Regions from separate parts of the Homo sapiens genome. Here all the other regions are linked to region 7. The links are contacts of gene promoters, found by promoter capture Hi-C in blood cells and fetal thymus (Javierre and others, 2016). All regions are on one chromosome and are shown on one strand. The core of a region is centred on a gene start or on the middle of the fragment in contact, and the rest is flanking DNA. Distances in the headings are between cores, read along the strand shown.

Region 1 (2,700 bases), core at 201-2,700, 3.3 Mb after region 7:
AAGACCAGCCTGACCAACATGGCAAAACCCCCGTCTCTACTAAAAATTTAAAAATTAGCCCGGTGTGGTGGCGCAGGCCTGTAATCCCAGCTACATGGGAGTCTGAGGCAGAAGAATCGCTTCAACCCTGGAGGCGGAGTTTGCAGTGAGCTGAAATCGTGTTATCACACTCCAGCCTGGGCAACAAGAGCGAAACTCAATCTCAAAAAAAAAAAAAAAGGAAAGAAAAAAGAAAAAATGCAAAATAAAAGTACACTGAGACATACTGTATGATTCAATCTATATATGACATTCTGGAAAAGGCAAACTCATTGGTACAGAGAACAGATTAGTGGCTGCCAGGGGCTAGGGGTAGGGAAAAGGGTTGATCACAAAGAGGTCAAACAAGGGTGTTTTTATGATGCTAGAGCTATTCTGTCCTTAATTGTGGTGGTGGTGACACAATTGTATGCATTTGTCAAAACGCATAGAACTGTACACCAAAAAGTGAATTTTACTATGTGTATGTTTTAAAAATAAAAATTTTAAAGTTTAAAAGGGATATCTTACCTATCATATTGGCAAAAATCCAAAAGCTTGACACTACATGCTATTAGCAAGGCTGTGGGGAGTCAGGCACCCTTTATATTAATACGTTGCTGGTGGGAAGGCAAAACGTTACAACATCTATAATTTGGCAATATCTAAAAAAACTACACATATATTTATCCTTTAATCCAGCAATCCCACTTCTAGTAACCTACCTTGGAGAGAGACATCCAGCAATATGAAAATATGTGTGCACAAAGTTATTCATTTCAGCATTATTGAAATTGAAATATTCTTGAAACTACCTAAATATTCCAACATAGGAGATTGACTGAATATACTATAGCACATATACACCACAGATTTTGCAGCTGTAAAAAAGGAATGAGGAAGACTTATGTAAAATGATAATGGATTTTTATGCTACATTTGTATAAAATAGAGAAATAAGAAAACATACAGGTATTTGCCTATTTTTGCAAAAGGAAACACACAAGATAAACCAGAAAGTAATGAAATCGGTTACCTATAGGAATTGGTGGAAATGGAATGCAACAGTTAGGGGAGGGAATGACACTTCTCTAAGTACACTAGTCTGTTTAGTTTTGACTTTTGGAATAATGTTAATATTTTCAATAGTCAAAATGTATAATCAAAGCATTTAGTTTTACACGATGAAAAAGTCTTAGAGATGAATAATGGTGATAGTTGCACAACAATGTGAATGCCATTAATGCCACTGAACTGTATGTATTTTATTTTTTTTGTTTTGGGACAGGTCTCAGGCTAGAGTGCAGTGGTGCGATCTTGGCTCACTGTAACCTCCGCCTCCCCGGTTCAAGCAAGTCTCATGCCTCAGCCTCCCGAGTAGCTGGGATTAGAAGCATGTGCCACCATGCCCAGCTAATTTTTTGTATATTAGTAGAGACGGGGTTTTGCCGTGTTGCCATTTCTTTTCTTTCTTTTTTTTCTTTTCTTTTCTTTTCTTTTTTTTTTTTGAGACGGAGTCTTGCTCTGTCACCAGGCTGGAGTGCAGTGGTGGTATCTTGGCTCACTGCAACCTCCGACTCCCTGGTTCAAGCGATTCTGCCGCCTCAGTCTACAGAGTAGCTGGGATTACAGGCACATGCCACCACGCCCAGCTAATTGTTGGTATTTTTAGTAGAGATGGGGTTTCACCATGTTGGCCAGGATGGTCTCGATCTCCTGACCTCGTGATCCGCCCACCTCGGCCTCCCAAAGTGCTGGGATTACAGGCGTGAGCCACCGCGCCAGGCCTAACAGCTTTCTTTTCTTTCTTTCTTTTTGAGACGTAGTCTCGCTCTGTCGCCCAGGCTGGAGTCCAGTGGCACGTTCTCGGCTCACTGCAACCTCCGCCTCCCGGGTTCAAGTGATTATTCTGCCTCAGCCTCCTGAGTAGCTGGGATGACAGGCGCGCGCCACCACGCCGGCTAATTTTTGTATTTTTAGTAGAGACGGGGTTTCACCATCTTGGCCAGGCTGGTCTCGAACTCCGACCTCGTGATCCGCCCACCTTGGCCTCTCAAAGTGCTGGGATTACAGGCGTGAGCCACCGCGCCCGGCCAATAGCTTTCCAAAGTTATTTTATCACGTATTTATCTACATATTACAGAAGTTTTTACTGTTCTTGCAACTTTTCTCTAAACTTGACGTTATTTGAAAACTAAAAGCTAAGCCAATTAGTATAGTAGTAATAGCAGACAAAAAAAATGAGAGAAGTAAAGGAAGTTTTGGGGGAACAGAAAGAAGAAAGAGCTAGTGTGGAGATACTAAACCGAAGCTTGTGGAACTTGAACGCCATTTTGAAGCTAGTTCCTTAGACGATTCGGTCGAAGATCTGTCTCTCGGCTGCCCTCTATAGAGCTCTAAACCTGGCTTCAAGGAGTTCTTTCATTCTTCATTAGATACCACCCACCATACGTCATTTTATAAAGCCGGAAACTACATTTCCCAAAAGGCCTTTATTTTTCCTCGCGGGAAAAGGGATTGCAATTACTATAGGTTTTACAGGTATCGCGAGATTTCGTCAAATCTCATTACGGATCCCGGCTGAAAGCCATTTTGTTTTTCAGCTCACTTCAAGGGTACCTGAAGCGAATTGGCACCAAAGCAGCAGCTGTATTGCCGCAGTTCTAGCTTCACCTTCACGAT
Region 2 (2,700 bases), core at 4-2,503, 3.3 Mb after region 7:
GGGTTATTTCACATTGTAGGGATATTGTTTTAGACTGGCCATTAACCTTATTTTATTTTATTTTTATTTTAAAAGATGTTATTGTTATTATTTATCTATGTATTTATTTCTAGAGGCAGGGCCTCGCTCTGTGGCCCAGGCTAGGGTGCCATGGCACAATCATAGCTCACTGCAGCCTTAATCTCCTGGGCTCAAATGATCCTCTGGCCTCTCAAGTAGCTGGAACCACAGGCGCATGCCACCATGCCTAGCTACTTATTTATTAATTAATTATTATTTTTTAAATAATATTATTTTTAAGAGATGGGGTCTTGCTCTGTCACCCAGGCTGGAGTGCAGTGGCGCCATCATAACTCACTGCAGTCTCGATCTCCCAGGCTCAAGCGATCCTCCTACCTCAGCCTCCTGAGTAGCTGGGACTATAGGTGTGTGCCACCACTCCCAGCTAATTTTTAAACTTTTTGTAGAGACAGCATCGTGCTGTGCAGTGGTGCTATCTCGGCTCACTGCAACCTCCGCCTCCTGGGTTCTAGTGATTCTCTTGCTTCAGTCTCCCAAGTAGCGGGGATTACAGGTGCGCGCCACCACACTTGGTTAGTTTTTGTATTTTTGGTAGAGAAGGGGTTTTGCCATGTTGGTCAGGCTGGTATCGAACTCCTGACTGACCTCAAGTGATCCACCCTCCTCAGCCTCCCAAAGTGCTGGGATTACAGGCATGAGCCACTGTGCCAGGCCTTAAAACACCTAGTGTTAAAAATGGTGTCTTAATTGTATTCTCAGATTCTCCTAGAAAGAAAAGATATACTAAATGTATATTTAGATATACTAAAACACCTAATGTTTATTTTTGTTTATTTATTTTTGAGATGGAGTCTGGCTCTGTCACCTAGGCTGGAGTGAAATGGTCTATGTTTGTTTTTTCATCTTGACAGTAATATCTTTGAACATTTTCTGGAGTATTAGATATTATTCTCTTGATGCTTCAAGGTATCTTAACTTCACCATTGTATTGCGATATATTGTTTTGGAGAGACAGTATAATATAGGATTAAGAGTGGAGGCTAGGTGGGGCACAGTTGCTCACGCCTGTAATCCCAGCACTTTGGGAGGCCGTGGCAGGCGGATTGCTTGAGCCCAGGCGTTCGAGACCAGCCTGGGCAACATAGGGAAACCCTGTCTCTACAAAAAATACAAAAATTAGCTGAGTGTGTTGGCACGTGCCTGTAGTCCCAGCTACTCAGGAGGCTGAGGTGGAAGGATCGCTTGAGCCTGGAAGGTTGAGGCTGCAGTGAGCTGAGATCACACCACTGCACTCCACCCTGGATGAGAGAGTGACAGAGTGAGACCCTGTCTTGTCCGGAAAAAAAAAAAAAGCCTGTCTTGTCTGGCTCAGTCCAGGTGCTAGACTGTCTAGGTGGGATCCCAGCCCCTCTGCTTACTACTTGTATGACCCTGCGCAGATTTCATACTCCTCTGTGCCTCAGTTCCTTCAAATTTCTAAAATGGGGACAATAACAGTACCTGTCTCACAGGATTGTTAATGATCTAATACATGTACGGTGTCTGGCAGATAGTAAACATACAATAAAATGTAGTTACCTTTAATATTTTAATATATTATTTACTGTAAAAGTAATTTTAACATCCTATATAATAAAATTATAAATTACAGTTTTGCTGTACTATAAATTTAGTAGACTACAGGATCAATATACTAATCAATCAATACTTGCAAGCAATATTTAAATTCTTTAAAAAAATTTTTTTTGGAGACAGGGTCTTGCTCCGTAGCCCAGGCTGGAGTTGCAATGGCACGATCTCGGCTCACTGCAACCTCTGCCTCCAGGGTTCAAGCGATTCTCATGCCTCAGCCCCCCGAGTAGATGGGGTTACAGGCGTGTGCCACCACACCCGGCTAATTTATTTATTTTTAGTAGAGATGGGGTTTCGCCATGTTGGCCAGCCTGGTCTCAAACTCCTGGCCTCAGGTGATCTGTCCGCTTCAGCCTCCCAAAGTGCTGGGATTACAGGTTTGAGCTACCGCTCCCGGCCCTGCCACCACGCCCGGCACAATACTTAATTTCTAACTTACACCATAGAAAATTGGCCGGTGCGGTGGCTCACGCCTGTAATCTCAGCACTTTGGGAGGCTGAGGTGGGTAGATTGCTTGAATTCAGGAGTTCCAGACCAGCCTGGGCAACAAGGTGAAACCCCATCTCTACAAAAATTACAAAAAATAGCCAGGTGTGGTGGCATGCGCCTATAGTCCCAGCTACTGGGGAGGCTAAAGTGGGGGAATTGCTTGAGCCTGGGAGGTTGAGGCTGCAATGAGCTGAGATCATGCCACTGCAGTCCAGCCTGGGTGACAGAGTGAGACCCTGTCTCAAAAAAAAAAAAAAAAAGAAAAAAAAAGAGAAAGAAAATGGAAAACTCAGATTGAGAGGGTCCCCCAGTAGCCTATAGTACACCTACATATGCTAACATGGCATCTTAAAGCTCATTATTACAGCTGGCAAATCAAATCACTGTGATGTGCTCATCCTATTTCCCTATCAAGAAAACTCATAACAATCTGCTTCTGTAATTAGTGAGCCACAGACTCTAGGCCATCGAGATTTTCCACATTCCCTAATTGTCAAATGCTGAACCATACTTGTACTGAATAAGTTGTGATACAGTGTAAGCAAGGGAAAAGGCCT
Region 3 (2,700 bases), core at 188-2,687, 5.0 Mb before region 7:
CTCTTATTTTGTCTTCTTTTCTATTTCTATCTATGTTTTTCTTCTCTTCCACCAGCCTAGGTCTTAGGCCTACACATAAGTGCCCCCGGCATTGCTGAGCCTCCATGATGACACTCAAGATGCCTGCTGCAAGTCAATAAAATTGTTAATTATTCATTACTCAATAACACGGAATGAGAGTGCGTAGTGACTATGAAGCATACATGGTTCCCCTGCTATGGTCATTTCGCTTTCTATAATCTCAGACTAGTAACTCTTGTCAATTGTGACTCTTGATTTAATCCTTTCCATCCTTCATTTCAGGGTCTATTGTTCTGCCTTTTGCCACTTTTTTTTTTTTATCTGAACCCGTTTCTGATTGGTGCAGCTGTTGAAGATGCTGCAGTTGCAGCAGTGTACATCTGGAACATTTGGCTGACTTGTTGAACTTCCCCCAGGGAGTACTCCAGGAGAAGGATGGGAGGGGTGGAGAGGCCAGAACAGTTGCCTGTAAATAAAGATGCCAGTAGTGTCTGGCCATTCTGTGGACCACACTTGTACAAATCCACTTCATTCTGGCCCTCGGTTTCCCTGTCTACTCACTGAAGACATACGTTCTCCAATCAAAACTGCTGCAGTGGAAGAAATCTATTCTGGCTGTGGATGCTCTCATACAGCATTTTTTGCATTGTACAGGGATCGATAGATATTTGTTGAATTAATTAATATATCAAGAAATCCTAGGAGACTGTTTTACCCTTCAAGGGACAACATCATTTCAGTTCCGCTTGGCATGGGGCGGCTTCTCTGTTACTTAGATTGAGCCTTCAGAGTCACTCCAGGAGTGAGGCTGCTTGAGTCCCACCCATTCCCATAGTTCCCAGGCTCCTGGGTCTCCTTTTCTTCGGGCGAGCCATTGAATTGCAAACACAGCAGGCATGGTTTCATTCCAAACCCAGAGCTGTTTTAATTAGTTTAACGTCTGTTAAACGCTTTGAAGATTGGAAGCAACAGATAAGTACTGGATGATGTTATTAACAACTGCAGTTAATTGCAAACATTTCTATTAATGCTAGTTTCTGCCTCCTTTTCTTTGCTCTACTTTCTTTCCAAGGTTCCCAAATTCTTAGCCTCCCCCTCCTTTCCTCCCCGTACTGGCGCTATAGGGTTAAACTGGGGCGGAGCCCAGGGATGAACGACAGCGCCAGTCACCAACTGGTACGGGGCAAGCGGGAAGAGCTGGGTGGGGCGGCCAGGCAGAGGCGAACCCTCACGCCCCCAGGCCCCGCCCCGCGGCTGGAGGCCCGGCTGGAACGGCACGGGGCGGGGCGCCAAGGCTTGGCGGCCCCGTGGTTGGGCGTCCCGGCAGCCGCTTGAGGGATGGGGCGGGGTCGGCCGGGACCTCCTCCTTCATTCCCTCGGCGGGCCGAGCCTCCCCTCTCTCCCGCCCCTCCTCCTCCCTTTCCCACCCCTCGGAGTAGAGCTGCACATGCGGCTGCTCCCTGCTCCGTCCCGCCCAGCCACTGTCGCGCAGGAACGGGTCCCTGCAGCCCCCAGCCGATGGCAGGACAGTAGCCGCCTGTCAGAGGTCGTGAACGGCTGAGGCAGACGCAGCGGCTCCCGGGCCTCAAGAGAGTGGGTGTCTCCGGAGGCCATGGGCTACCCGGAGGTGGAGCGCAGGGAACTCCTGCCTGCAGCAGCGCCGCGGGAGCGAGGGAGCCAGGGCTGCGGGTGTGGCGGGGCCCCTGCCCGGGCGGGCGAAGGGAACAGCTGCCTGCTCTTCCTGGGTTTCTTTGGCCTCTCGCTGGCCCTCCACCTGCTGACGTTGTGCTGCTACCTAGAGTTGCGCTCGGAGTTGCGGCGGGAACGTGGAGCCGAGTCCCGCCTTGGCGGCTCGGGCACCCCTGGCACCTCTGGCACCCTAAGCAGCCTCGGTGGCCTCGACCCTGACAGCCCCATCACCAGTCACCTTGGGCAGCCGTCACCTAAGCAGCAGCCATTGGAACCGGGAGAAGCCGCACTCCACTCTGACTCCCAGGACGGGCACCAGGTGAGTCACCTAGTAGGGGCGGCGGCGGCCCCCTCCCCTCGCGGGTAGGGCGAGGGCCCTCCGCCACAGGGGCCTGGGAGCACTCAGCAACCTCGAGCCAATTTAGAGGGCAGGACCAGGGAGGGACCAGGCGAGCAAGGGAGAAGTTGCCCAGGGCAGGTTGTCTTCGGTCCCTGGCCCAGCTAATCCAGACTCCCTGGGGACCCCTTGACTTGGAAAGTCTCGCGCGCGCCCGCGGCCCCTGGCTGCGGGCTGCCTCGAGAAAAGTTGGCGACGCTCCCGTCGAGGAGGTGCCTGCGCTGCCCCCCGGCCGACTAACGGCTTGGCCCTTCTGCTCGTGATGAGGTTCTCTGCCCGCGGTGCTTGTTTTTTCGTGTCTAGAGCTGATGCCAGAACCAGCAGGCTCCCCTTTGGAGTTGGAGCTGTAAACAGCTGTAATAACTGTTCCACGCCCGCCCGTTGAAACAACTTTTAACCGCATTTTCAGCGCGGGTCCTTGTGCGCTGACCAGAACGTGGGCTTGTTCACACTTACCTGCAATTTGAGACTGATTGTCCTCGGCGTTCTAGTGAGGATCAGCGCCCCTGAGGAATTCTGGTAGAAATATGCCGTCTTGCTAGACAACTTCTGAACAGCAATTTTAAAAATCTATGGAAATAAAACTCACCCTT
Region 4 (2,700 bases), core at 103-2,602, 4.5 Mb before region 7:
CCATGCACAACAGGAGTTTAATATGATAAAGTGTTTACACACAAAACACAGCAAACGACTCGTTTTTATTATTCCTTTTTTTCTTTCTTTTTTGTGAGACAGAGTCTCGCTCTGTCGCCCAGGCTGGAGTGCAGTGGTGTGATCTCGGCTCGCTGCAGCCTCTGCCTCCCGGCTCACTGCCTCAGCCTCCGGAGTAGCTGGGGTTACAGGCCCGCGCCACCATGCCCAGCTAATTTTTGTATGTTTAGTAGAGACAGGGTTTCACCATGTTGGCCAGGCTGGTCTTGAACTCCTGACCTCAGGTGAGCTGCCCACCTCGGCCTCCCAAAGTGCTGGGATCACAGGCATGAGCCACCACGCCCGGCCATTATTCCTTTTTTTCTAACCACTTTTTAATCTTGGTATTCTTTCAGAATAAGATGAAATGCAATGCTTAAAATGACAACTCTAATATATAACAGGCACTCTGAAAGTAATTGGCATCTCCCATAAAGACCGTCATTTTGGCTGGGCACACTGAATCACGTCTGTAATCCCAACACTTTGGGACGGTGAAGCGGGTGGATCACTTGACCTCAGGAGTTTGAGATCAGCCTGGGCAACATGGCGAAACCCCGCCTCTACAAAAAAATACAAAAATTAGCCAGGAGTGGTGACTTGCACCTGTAGTCCCAGCTAATTGGGGGGCTTGAGGGTAGAGGATCACTTGAGTCCAGGAGGCGGAGTTTGCAGTGAGCTAAGATCGTGCCAATGCATTCCAGCACTCCAGCCTGGGTGGCAGAGTGAGACCCTGTCTCAAAAAAAAAAAAAAAAAAAGACTAATTTTGAAAGCCATAAAAAATGACTTACAAAGTTTAAGACCAAATTAAGACTGTGCACATTTTTTTCCTCTTAAGTAACAGTAAAGACATGTTTTAATCCAAGCAAATGCAGAGAAGCAAATTATCTTTACTCTCACAATTACTACATTTCTAAGTCTCCTCCACAAGTACTATCTTTTTCTTTATATTCCCTGCCAAGCCTGACCCTGAAAGGTCAGTTTACTAGAGGTGCCAGATAAACCAAATAGGTAATTCGCCAAAGCCTCACTTCCTTCTTAGTTTATAAAGCAGGGGTTGCAAGGGAAGGTTTATTAGAATCACCTGGGAAGCTTTTTCAACCTACATGTGTGCCACAGCCTCCTCTCCCTCTTAGGAAGCACTGTTCTAGTTTGGGGCTTCAATCTGTCCCACATTAAAGGTCTTCATCTTTCTAAATCCTACCCAACTGAAGGTTAATGGAGTAGAAACAATTGAACGCAGAAGTCACTGACTTTGTCACAAACTGGCTGGACAAGTCCCTTAACCTTTCTGGTCTCAAGTTTTTCCTCCGATTTTGGGGGTTCCCTTTAAACTTTGACATTCTTCTATGTGACCGCATGTCATGTCTAAGAAGCCTTCTGAACTACTCCTAGCATGGGATGACTTGCCCTTTCTTGCTTTTCCAACAGCCTGTGCAATACAACATATCACCTATTTTATACTGTCCTATATTGCCCTCTAGTTGTTTTTTAATGAAGCTTTTTTTCTTCTCAACGATATGTAGTTTAAAATACTAGTTTAAAAGTTTATTTTCAGGGGTAGACAGTGTGCCTGCTACTTAAATCTCCTAGGACAATTCAGGCTGCGTCCTAAGGTAATCAGTATGTATTTATATTGCTTTGTTCAAAACAATGACGTCCCTTCTTTGAAGTCCTGAAATTATGTTTTCCATCAGTTCTGTCCAGTAGAAATATAATGGGAGCTACAAATATAGTTTTAAATTATCTGGCAGGCACATTTACAAAGTGAAAAGAAAGAAGTACAATTAATTCTAATAATATATTTAATCCAACATATCCAAAAGACTATCATTTCAACATGTAGTCCATGTAAAAAGTATTTACATTTTTCATTCTTTTTTTTTTAAATGTCTTTGAAATCTGGGGTGTTTTTTACACTTGCAGCACATCTCGATTCAAAATAGCCACTTTCAAGTGCTTAGTAACCACATGTAGCTAGTAACTACCTACTGAACAATGCTGTTCTGCATAAGTTGGCTGCTTTCCAAACTGATCACTTTTTTTTTTTATTCAGATAATGACTGATACTGAGTACTCAGGCTAGCCAGAGTGGTGCAAAGATGAGTCAAATTCATTCTGATAAGAGAGATTTGTAAGTCACTAGCAATTATACAGCGTGGTAGGTGCCATGATAGAGATGCATAGGAGAAACCCAGACTTGGCGGCTGAAGGGCACAGGGTGGAAGGCGGTAGAGAGACAAGGAAGGTTGCACAGAAATAACATTTGATGTAGGAACTAAGTGCACGAAGGGAAGCCGGCTGTGCGGTGACCGGAGTTGCAGGTTGCCAATCTTGCTGAGGGGGGCTCCACCGGACGCCGGCCTACGGGTCGTAGGCGTGTGTGGGGTGAAGGGGGAAGAGGACGGGAGAGGATTGGCTGGGAGGAACCCGGAGCTCCATCTGGTGGGTGGACGGAAACCGCAGGGGGGCGCTACTTGCACTTCGCGCTCAAGCGACCGGATCTTCAAACCGTGGGAGTGGTGCGGCGGCTAGAGTCCCTGGACTCCTCAACCTAGGGAGCTACTCGCGAGGTAAGGGGCGCGCCAGACTGGCTCCTAAAACGCACTCGCTCGTCCGCACTCCTCGCGCTCCGAATTCAG
Region 5 (2,700 bases), core at 191-2,690, 3.5 Mb after region 7:
TCTGGAGAGACGGCAAGGGTTTAAGAAGAGGGGCTTGGAATGCAAGAGAGGAAGGGGGCTAGGAGGTGCCAAATGGTGTGACTTGCTCTGATGGCTTATCTTGAATTATTGTTCCATGGCACCATTGTGGACCTGACAGGTTACAAATCAATCACATTCAATCTTGCAGTCAGTCCAGAGGGAACTCCGGTCTTGAAGTAATCTTCTGCTGGGGAGAGAATCCTGGAGGTGCCTGTTTCCTGTCAGGATTCAGTCCTTGAAGCTTCTAAGGAAATATATGACCAGGTAAGTGAGCCAGTGTGAACTTAACAAGCATCCAGGTAAATAAATATGCATAAGGCATGGGAGCATAAGGTGGGAAAGGGGAGGAAGTGGAATTTTAAAGCACATCCCCAGGCTGTATTTCAAGGAAAAAGAAAACACTTCTGTAGTTTATGTCAAAGCTATGTCTTGAGACTGGGGGGAAAGAAGAAAAGAAAAAAAAAGTTTTAAAACATGGTTTGAAGCTAAGCTGCTCTATTACACACTGATATAATTTTTGCAAAGCCAGTTTCAATTCCTTCATCTTATGATTAGGCCAGTGTCTGTGCAAACTTGCCTTACTTTAAACTGTTCTTAAAATGTTTATTTTGCCCTCTCTGTTTTCATTTGTGTTAATTCCAGTCTTCGATCATGAGCTATTTGGCTACCCCACTCTCATTGGGGAATTAGGCATGTCCAGGGTTGATCCCTCGAGAAACTGCCTGACAGAAAAAATAAATTTATTTGCAGTGAGAAATATAACTGTCATGGCCAGTAGATACCAGAAAGTTGCAGTTTGCGAGGCTTATTGTGCATTAGATTCACCTGGGGGTACTTAAGAAGTTTTATAACTTCCCTTTAAGTGCATTACATTGTTGTTCCATTTGGAATTTCACAGGACATATGATTTAATAAACCTAGGTGAGGCCGGGAGCGGTGGCTGAGCGGTGGCTCAGCACTTTGGGAGGCTGAGGCGGGTGGATCACGAGGTCAGGAGTTCGAGACCAGCCTGTCCAACATGGTGATACCCTGTCTCTACTAAAAATACAAAAATTAGCTGGGCATGGTGGCAGGTGCCTGTAATCCCAGCTGCTTGGGAGGCTGAGGCAGGAGAATCGTTTGAACCCGGGAGGCGGAGGTTGCAGTGAGCCAAGATCGTGCCATTGCACTCCAGCCTAGGCAACAAGAGCAAAACACCGTCTCAAAACAAAAACAAACAAAACAAATAAATAAACAAAACACTAAACCTAGGTGGCGCTTGGACATCTGTGTGGCAAGCTACATGGAACTAGGCTGTTTTTGTAATGGCTCCTCCATGACCAGGTCTGTACCTTGTCATTTCCCAGACTCTCATGCTTCATCCCCTTCCCTAAACCCCCATTACTGTTACTCTCCCAAGCCTGCCCTCTTCTGATACTATTCATTGCACTATTCCTTTTAGCCTTTATTTCAGCATGAAAACCTAATAACTTATTGTTCACATTTCAGAACTCTAGTTAACTAGTTAATGCATAATAAGGTATTACTGGGTGGTAACTACCTAATATGATAACTCCCCAATTCACTATTTAGCCAGAGCATTCCAACCTTTTACTCAATCATTGCCTTAAAGGGTAACATTTGTATCCTTGGTAGTTCAGTGCAGAAAATCTGAGCAAGGCAGCTACTTAGCCATCATTATGAATTCTCTCTACACATCTAGCTGTCTTTGCACATGTCCCAGAGGCTAAGTGATTCAACAAAAGCTCATTGCATTTTGTGATCTCATTGTTGATGATCTCTGCCATTTTACTATGTGGTCTAAAGTGACTGCACATGAAACCATACTTGATGACAAGAAAAGGGACAGAAAGAAGTCTCATCTACCACCATAGAGAATGCTAAACCCATCAACTTCTGTATGAATTTCTACTGTTGTTTCATGGTATCTGGATTCTCTAGCCAGTTTACAGCCCAAAGACATGCCATTTTTCTTGATTTCCTTTTCTGTAGGTTCACTGGGGGCACAGTGGTATTCAGTGAGTTGTTTAAGTAGCAGCGACTACTGATAGCTTTGGCCTCTCAGAAAATCTTGGGCTTTCCTAATGTAGCTTATGGATGATCTTGTTTGTCTAACCCCGATTTCTTTTTAAGTTACTTATTTTGAATAAGTAATACATTAACATGGTTCAAAAAATAAACTAACAAGATTTACATTTAGAACCCCCATACCTACTCCTGTCCCCATCTAACTTACACTTCCTACTCCCATAAATAACAATGTTATTCATTTCTTATATATCCTTTCAGTGTTTCTTCTTCTTTTTTTTTGTAGAGACAGGGGTCTTGGTATGTTGCCCAGGGTGGTCTCGAACTCCTTGCCTCCAGCGATTATCCGGCTTTGGCCTCCTAAAGGGCTGGGATACAGTCGTGAGCCACTGTGTCCTGCCAGTGTTTCATTATGCAAACACAAGCCAAGAAGCCATATACATACAAATATATATATATATATATTTGTAGAGACAGGAGACAGGGTTTCTCTCTGCCACCCAAACCAGAGTGTAGTGGCGCCATCACAGCTTACTGCAGCCTTGATATGGAATGAGCTCCCTCATTCTTAAGCTTCATATAGTACAGTATTCTATTGTATTCATGTACCATAGTTTAACTAGTCCTTTATTGACAGACACTTGGGATTTT
Region 6 (2,700 bases), core at 109-2,608, 3.2 Mb after region 7:
CGCCAACTTGAAATGCAATTCTGACCCATGCTCCTTGTAATTTTATTTTGCCACTGGACGCCAAGGATGCATCTCCGAGTAAAAAAATTACTTAATTCACATTGTGGGATGAAAATTCAAATGTCAAACTGAAACGCCAGCCAGCCACCTGGGTAAAAGTGTATACATTTCATATTGACTACCCAAATTTTCAGACCCGTCAAGAGGCAAATCAGAAGCACACAGAAAAACAGCTTCAACCTAATAAACGTGCTTGATTGGTTAAGAGGAGGCCTGCCAGGCATTTTCCCTTGCAATAAATCTTACTTCGCATCAGCCCACGTTAACCTGCCCTTCATCCTTCATGGAATAAATAAGTAAATAAAGATAGGGCCTAATTACTCCTCGAAATTTGCCCAGAAAGTGGGGAAACACTTGAGGTCCCATTAAGGCTGGACATCACAAAAAGTAGTATACTAGGGTCCTCTGGAAGCAAAACCCTGTGTTAAGTCCCCCCTCGCCTAGAAATAAACCCAAGGATATCCTTCAGGATATGGAGTAGAAAAGATACCTAAATACCTGGAACTGCACCACAACCCAATCAAAAAAAGGCTTGTCTCCTGGGGCTGCAGAAAAAAAATCCCGCAGGGCCCGGGTGCTTCCCATCTCCAGCAACCTAAACGCCTCTAAGTCGTCCTGGGATCTCACATCCTCGCGCCCGCCCACCCCTCCCCCTCTTCTCACCCTCCCCCCGCTTCTTCCCCACGCAGTTTCTAGGCCCAAAGATTAGCAAAAATGACCGGGATACCAAAGACCGCCTCCGACTTCGAGGTCTCAATCCCACAGGCACCAAAGAATAAACAGAGGAGCCCGACCAAGCGTCACCGTTTAGGGGAGATTGCAAGAAGCGCCCCATACCCTAGGCCGCGCCCCCCCCACCTCCCCCCACCCCATCCCCACCCCCACCCCCGTCGGAGCCTTGCGCCGATACCCCGAAACCCTTCTCACCTAAAGAGAAAACGATGCCTCTTTCGGCTAAGCAACACACAGGCCTAACCCACCAAGCGAACGCCTTCCCAAACACCCGACTCAGACGGTGCCTGGGCCCAGACCGCTGGGGCCCATGAGACGGGGTTGCGTTTTACCTCATGGGCTCAGCGGTCATGTTTTCGCTTGAACGCCTTGTCGGCTTCTGTGATTGCTGGGCGCCGATCTGCGCTCCCCCGCGCCCGGTTACGATAGAAATGCACTGGAGTCTTAGTCGTCACTGTAGCTGCTGCTGGAACCTCCCCACAGCTCAAAGGCCGCTACCACTGCCACCGCCGCAGGAGCCGCGGAAACAAAGCGACACCGCTGCCGCCGCCATTTTGTTGGGCCGAGGCTCAGGCAGGAGAATTGGCGCGTCCTCCCTCTTTCTCTTTCCGTCAGCCATTGGCTACCTCCTCCAAAGCACAGAGTCTTATTGGCTACGGAAATTCACCTTCTTTGGGGGCCTGTTGCTAAGGCGGTCGACGTCATTTGATCCCCTCCACCTTTTCGCAGGGGGTCCAATTTAGTCCCAATTGACCTGAAAGTGCTAGTGACATAGTTTGACTTTATTTTGAAAATGCTCTTTTGGTCCAACCTCTTTTTTCTTTGACATATTAACGAAGTAATAACAGCAACCTACATTTATTGAGAGTTTACTATATGCTCGGCACTACACTAATCCTTTATCCGGGTTATCTCATTTAATCTTTACACTCTCTGAGGTAGACAAACCTACATTTTCCAGATGAGGAAACCAAGACACAAAGTCCCACAGTAGTGGAGCCGAGATTCACCAGACACTCTTAACCACTAATCTGTATGGCCATCCTATGTAAGTATTTTCTTTCCTATATGCTAGGCTATCATCAAGTTATTTGCTTTCCTAGATGTTTTATACATAATATTTGGCACACCAACATGCTTGGAAATGTATATGTGTATAATATACTTATATATATGTATATGTGTGCAGACGACATAAGACCAACTTGAACGCTGCATAAAATTCTTTCCATATTGAATAAAGTGTCTCTTAGAATACACACACACACACACACACACACACACACACACACACACACACGGGCCATTTCCCCAATTTGATGTGATGTTTAGCTCACAAACCAATCAATTTAGATCTGCTTCCTTCTCATTACAGAGGAAGCTTGGCTGGATGATCTGTAAATGCCTTTCCCGCTTTTATGATCTATAATTTGATTTTACATTGGTAATCTCTGCTAATCACAAACAAGTCCTCTAAAATCTAATCGCTTCGAAATTTATTTCCAAATTTATTCTGCCATGCATGCTTTAGTTCATTCTATTTATTTTTCTTGAAATATGCAAGAGCTCCTGTCGGGGTTAGGTGACAGGGTTGCTGCTTTCTACTGGGATAGCAAGAGGGGAGCCTTTTTTGAATGAAACACTTTGAAAATCTGATAGGCTCAGGCAACTTTTTTTTTTTTTTTTTCTGAGACAGGGTCTAGCTCTGTCACCCAGGCTGGAGTGCAGTGGCGTGACGCAGTTCACTGCAGCCTCGACCTCCTAGGCTCAAGCAATCCTCCCACCTCAGCCTCTCAAGCAGCTGGGACTGCAGGCGCGTGCCATCAAGCCCAGCTAATTATGTATTTATGTATTGGTATAGATGAGGTAGGTCTGTCTGTTGCCCAGGCTGGTCTCAAACATCTAAGC
Region 7 (2,700 bases), core at 129-2,628:
TATTTCTTCCCCCTTTCAATCAGTCCAAAACACTGCGGTTAATTCTGATTCAGGAAATGCGGGCTCCTTACTTCTGGCAAAAAATCATTGTGGGGTCTTGCAAATGGAAGATGACAATCTGATACAACTGCTTCCTCTTGCCCCAAAATGAAAAAAAAAATGACCTCAATAACAAGACTGCTAGGCCTCAGATTCCCAGACTAACCTGTGGAATAAGTATGGTGAAACTGTCTAGGGAAGGAACGTGGCTGTCTCCTCCATCTTGAAATTAATCAGCATAAGGGAAAAAGGGACCGAGTATTCAGGAAGCAGAAGCCCAACCGGTTAATACTAGTTACTAAGCTATGGCATGCGTGGCAGGTACCGTCTGCAGAAGCAGAGACCCCCCTAGGCTTTTTTTTTTTTTTTTAATGGGGGAGGGATTGAGTTGTTGGTGGATTAAACACAAATTAACTTGAAAATTTGGCCCAATTCCATCCCTTATCCAGGAGAACACAACAAACACCTAACGGCTTTTCCCTCTCTTTTGCGGGGGGATCCTTCCAGTGATACCTGGCAAAGGATATGCCAGGGTTATTCGAGCAAGGGAGTAAACCACATTTGCCTCAGATCCTCAGGGAAGATGTCATCGCGGCCCCAGGGGGCGCCTAATTGGTAATACCCTGCAGAAGGGCTCAAAATGAGGTTTTGGAAATCTAAAGGCCCAAGAGTTGCCAGCATCTCACTTGGGGCAGCCTGATTTTTTACTTCCCTTTTCCCAAACCCAAGCCCGCCATGGAAAACGCGGGGAGGTCAGGGAAGCCTCCAGAGAACAGAGAAGAAAAAGCCTGAGACGTTCTAAGATTCTGACGCCTGAGGCCAAAACTCAAAAACTGCCTCCCCCGATTTCCTAAGGCTCCGGAGGGCCTGGGCTGCAGCTCGCGCGGCCACCGAGAGGAAGTACTACCCACCTCCTTCCCCTTCAAAGAGCCTGTCGACTATACCACTCAACTAAAATGGCAGCGGCGACTACGCCACGGAGCCCCCCGCAGCAACGGGCCTGGGGTCCGGAGGCGGCGCTGAGCCTCTGCCACGACGCGTCACTCGGGCCATTTTGAGAGAACGCGGCAGCCGCGGCTCCGCTGTCTTCCTCTCGCTCTACATCATTTCTCACAGGATTCCCAAGTCTTCACTTACTAGGTTTTAGGGTCAGGATCCGACTCGGTTGGTTCGGCCGCCGCCGCCGAGGCTGCTCCGCACCTCCCTGGCCGCCGCTCTCAAGCCCGCCTCCAATGAGTAGCTGGTTGAGACCCGCCTCTAGCCCAGCGCCTGCTCGGAGACGTTGCTCAGGCAGCCATTATCTTCCCCATTGTTACCAAGCAGCGACAGGAAACGACTGCCCACAACAGGAAGTGATGATGCCGCGTCCCGGCACCGCAGCCCCACTCCCAGCCTATTAGCCAATCCCAGTCGATTCCTCGAAAAGGCTCCGCGGGAGGAGGAGGGGGACGGCAGACGACGCGGCAAGGCGGGCGGCGGTTTGGAAAAGGAAAGCTGTTATGACGCCCACCATGTGACAGGCCCCACCCTCCTCCGCCATTTTGAATTGTGGCGAGAAATTTGCGTTCTGAGAATTGTGGGAACCTTCGCTTTCCCATTTTGAAAACTGAAGGACGTCACGGTCTGACTGCTTGAAGACATTTTCAGAGAGAGAGAAATGTGATATTAGTCTACCCTGACATCACATCAGTTCACACAATCCGTGCAGACCAGTTCAAAAAGTAGCCTGCGTTTTATTCAACATGTATTTACACAGTGCCAACTGCATGTCAAGCACCATTGTAGCTGCTTAGGAAATTAAAATAGACCAAAATTAAGAAAGAAAACAGGCCACGTTCGGTGGCTCACGCCTGTAATCCCAGCACTTTGGGAAGCCGAAGCGGGCGGATCACCTGAGGTCAGGAGTTCGAGACCAGCCTGGCCAACATGGTGAAACCCAGTCTCTACTAAAAATACGAAAATTAGCCGGGCGTGGTGGCGGGCGCCTGTAATCTCTGCTAATCGGGAGGCTGAGGCAGGAGAATAGCTGAACCCAGGAGGCGAAGATTGCAGTGAGCCGGGATCTCGCCACTGCACTCTAGCCTGGGTGACAGAGCAAGGCTGTGTCTCAAAAAAAAAAAAAAAAAAAAAAAGAAAACAGATCAAAATCCCAGTTCTCTTGAGTCTTTATAGGGGCCAGGGACAATAATTTAGAAAAAATCAAACATAAATACATATCATGTTAGTGATAAATGCCAAGGAGAAAAATCAAGGAAGGGGGACAGAAGAGTTCCTTGTAGGGACAAACGGATTCGTGATGTTTAAAAGACTGATAACTTTGAGGCATTAACTCTAAAGTATTCGAAAAAGGGCGGTGATTGTAAAAGGGTGGGAAAATCTGATAACGTTGGGATTTGTAAAAGGGCAGTTAAAGAAGGCCTTTCTTAGGTAGTAATGCCTGAAAGAATTGAGGGAACTCGCCACACAGCATGCCACTCCCATTGTCACAGTTAAAGGAAAACCTTACCCAAGTTTTTAGATTCTTTTCCTTTTCCCAATTTTTCTGTTTTCCAATAGCATGCCAGCTATGCTGGCTTTGTTACGGTTTTTCCAACAAAGCTAACTTCTTCCTACTTCAACTACTTTACCTTTGCTGGAATATTTTACTTTCATATCTTTGCT

Evidence for each region. The method cuts DNA at HindIII sites, captures the fragments that hold promoters and counts their contacts. A CHiCAGO score of 5 or more calls a contact.
Region 1: a fragment that was not itself captured here is called in contact with the fragment with the promoter of RLIM in region 7 in 3 of 17 cell types (fetal thymus, monocytes and total CD4 T cells); the score reaches 13.4 in fetal thymus.
Region 2: a fragment that was not itself captured here is called in contact with the fragment with the promoter of RLIM in region 7 in 1 of 17 cell types (monocytes); the score reaches 10.1 in monocytes.
Region 3: the fragment with the promoter of EDA here is called in contact with the fragment with the promoter of RLIM in region 7 in 1 of 17 cell types (M1 macrophages); the score reaches 5.5 in M1 macrophages.
Region 4: a fragment that was not itself captured here is called in contact with the fragment with the promoter of RLIM in region 7 in 1 of 17 cell types (total CD4 T cells); the score reaches 5.3 in total CD4 T cells.
Region 5: a fragment that was not itself captured here is called in contact with the fragment with the promoter of RLIM in region 7 in 1 of 17 cell types (neutrophils); the score reaches 7.4 in neutrophils.
Region 6: the fragment with the promoter of ATRX here is called in contact with the fragment with the promoter of RLIM in region 7 in 1 of 17 cell types (neutrophils); the score reaches 6.5 in neutrophils.

What each region holds. Positions count from the first base shown.
Region 1 is chrX:77,896,856-77,899,555 of GRCh38, forward strand. COX7B (cytochrome c oxidase subunit 7B) reads left to right here and starts at 2,613. Exons shown (of 3, transcript NM_001866.3): 1 at 2,613-2,700. The coding sequence starts at 2,699. RefSeq lists an enhancer at 2,567-2,700. The HindIII fragment of the contact is 1,754 bases long and covers 574-2,327 here.
Region 2 is chrX:77,913,969-77,916,668 of GRCh38, forward strand. All of the region lies in intron 1 of ATP7A (ATPase copper transporting alpha), which reads left to right. Among named protein-coding and RNA genes, the nearest start is that of ATP7A, 4.6 kb to the left of the region's middle. The HindIII fragment of the contact is 5,339 bases long and covers 1-2,700 here.
Region 3 is chrX:69,614,676-69,617,375 of GRCh38, forward strand. EDA (ectodysplasin A) reads left to right here and starts at 1,438. Exons shown (of 8, transcript NM_001399.5): 1 at 1,438-2,029. The coding sequence starts at 1,634. RefSeq lists a silencer at 1,266-1,385. The HindIII fragment of the contact is 7,678 bases long and covers 1-2,700 here.
Region 4 is chrX:70,130,910-70,133,609 of GRCh38, forward strand. IGBP1 (immunoglobulin binding protein 1) reads left to right here and starts at 2,538. Exons shown (of 7, transcript NM_001551.3): 1 at 2,538-2,631. The HindIII fragment of the contact is 408 bases long and covers 1,149-1,556 here.
Region 5 is chrX:78,096,484-78,099,183 of GRCh38, forward strand. No RefSeq gene overlaps it. Among named protein-coding and RNA genes, the nearest start is that of PGK1, 6.4 kb to the right of the region's middle. The HindIII fragment of the contact is 2,360 bases long and covers 261-2,620 here.
Region 6 is chrX:77,784,858-77,787,557 of GRCh38, forward strand. It overlaps ATRX (ATRX chromatin remodeler), which reads right to left and starts at 1,359. Exons shown (of 35, transcript NM_000489.6): 1 at 1,125-1,359. The coding sequence starts at 1,144. RefSeq lists a silencer at 973-1,022 and enhancers at 1,123-1,232, 1,243-1,432. The HindIII fragment of the contact is 7,766 bases long and covers 1-2,171 here.
Region 7 is chrX:74,613,246-74,615,945 of GRCh38, forward strand. It overlaps RLIM (ring finger protein, LIM domain interacting), which reads right to left and starts at 1,379. Exons shown (of 4, transcript NM_016120.4): 1 at 1,177-1,379. RefSeq lists an enhancer at 984-1,303. The HindIII fragment of the contact is 9,843 bases long and covers 1-2,700 here.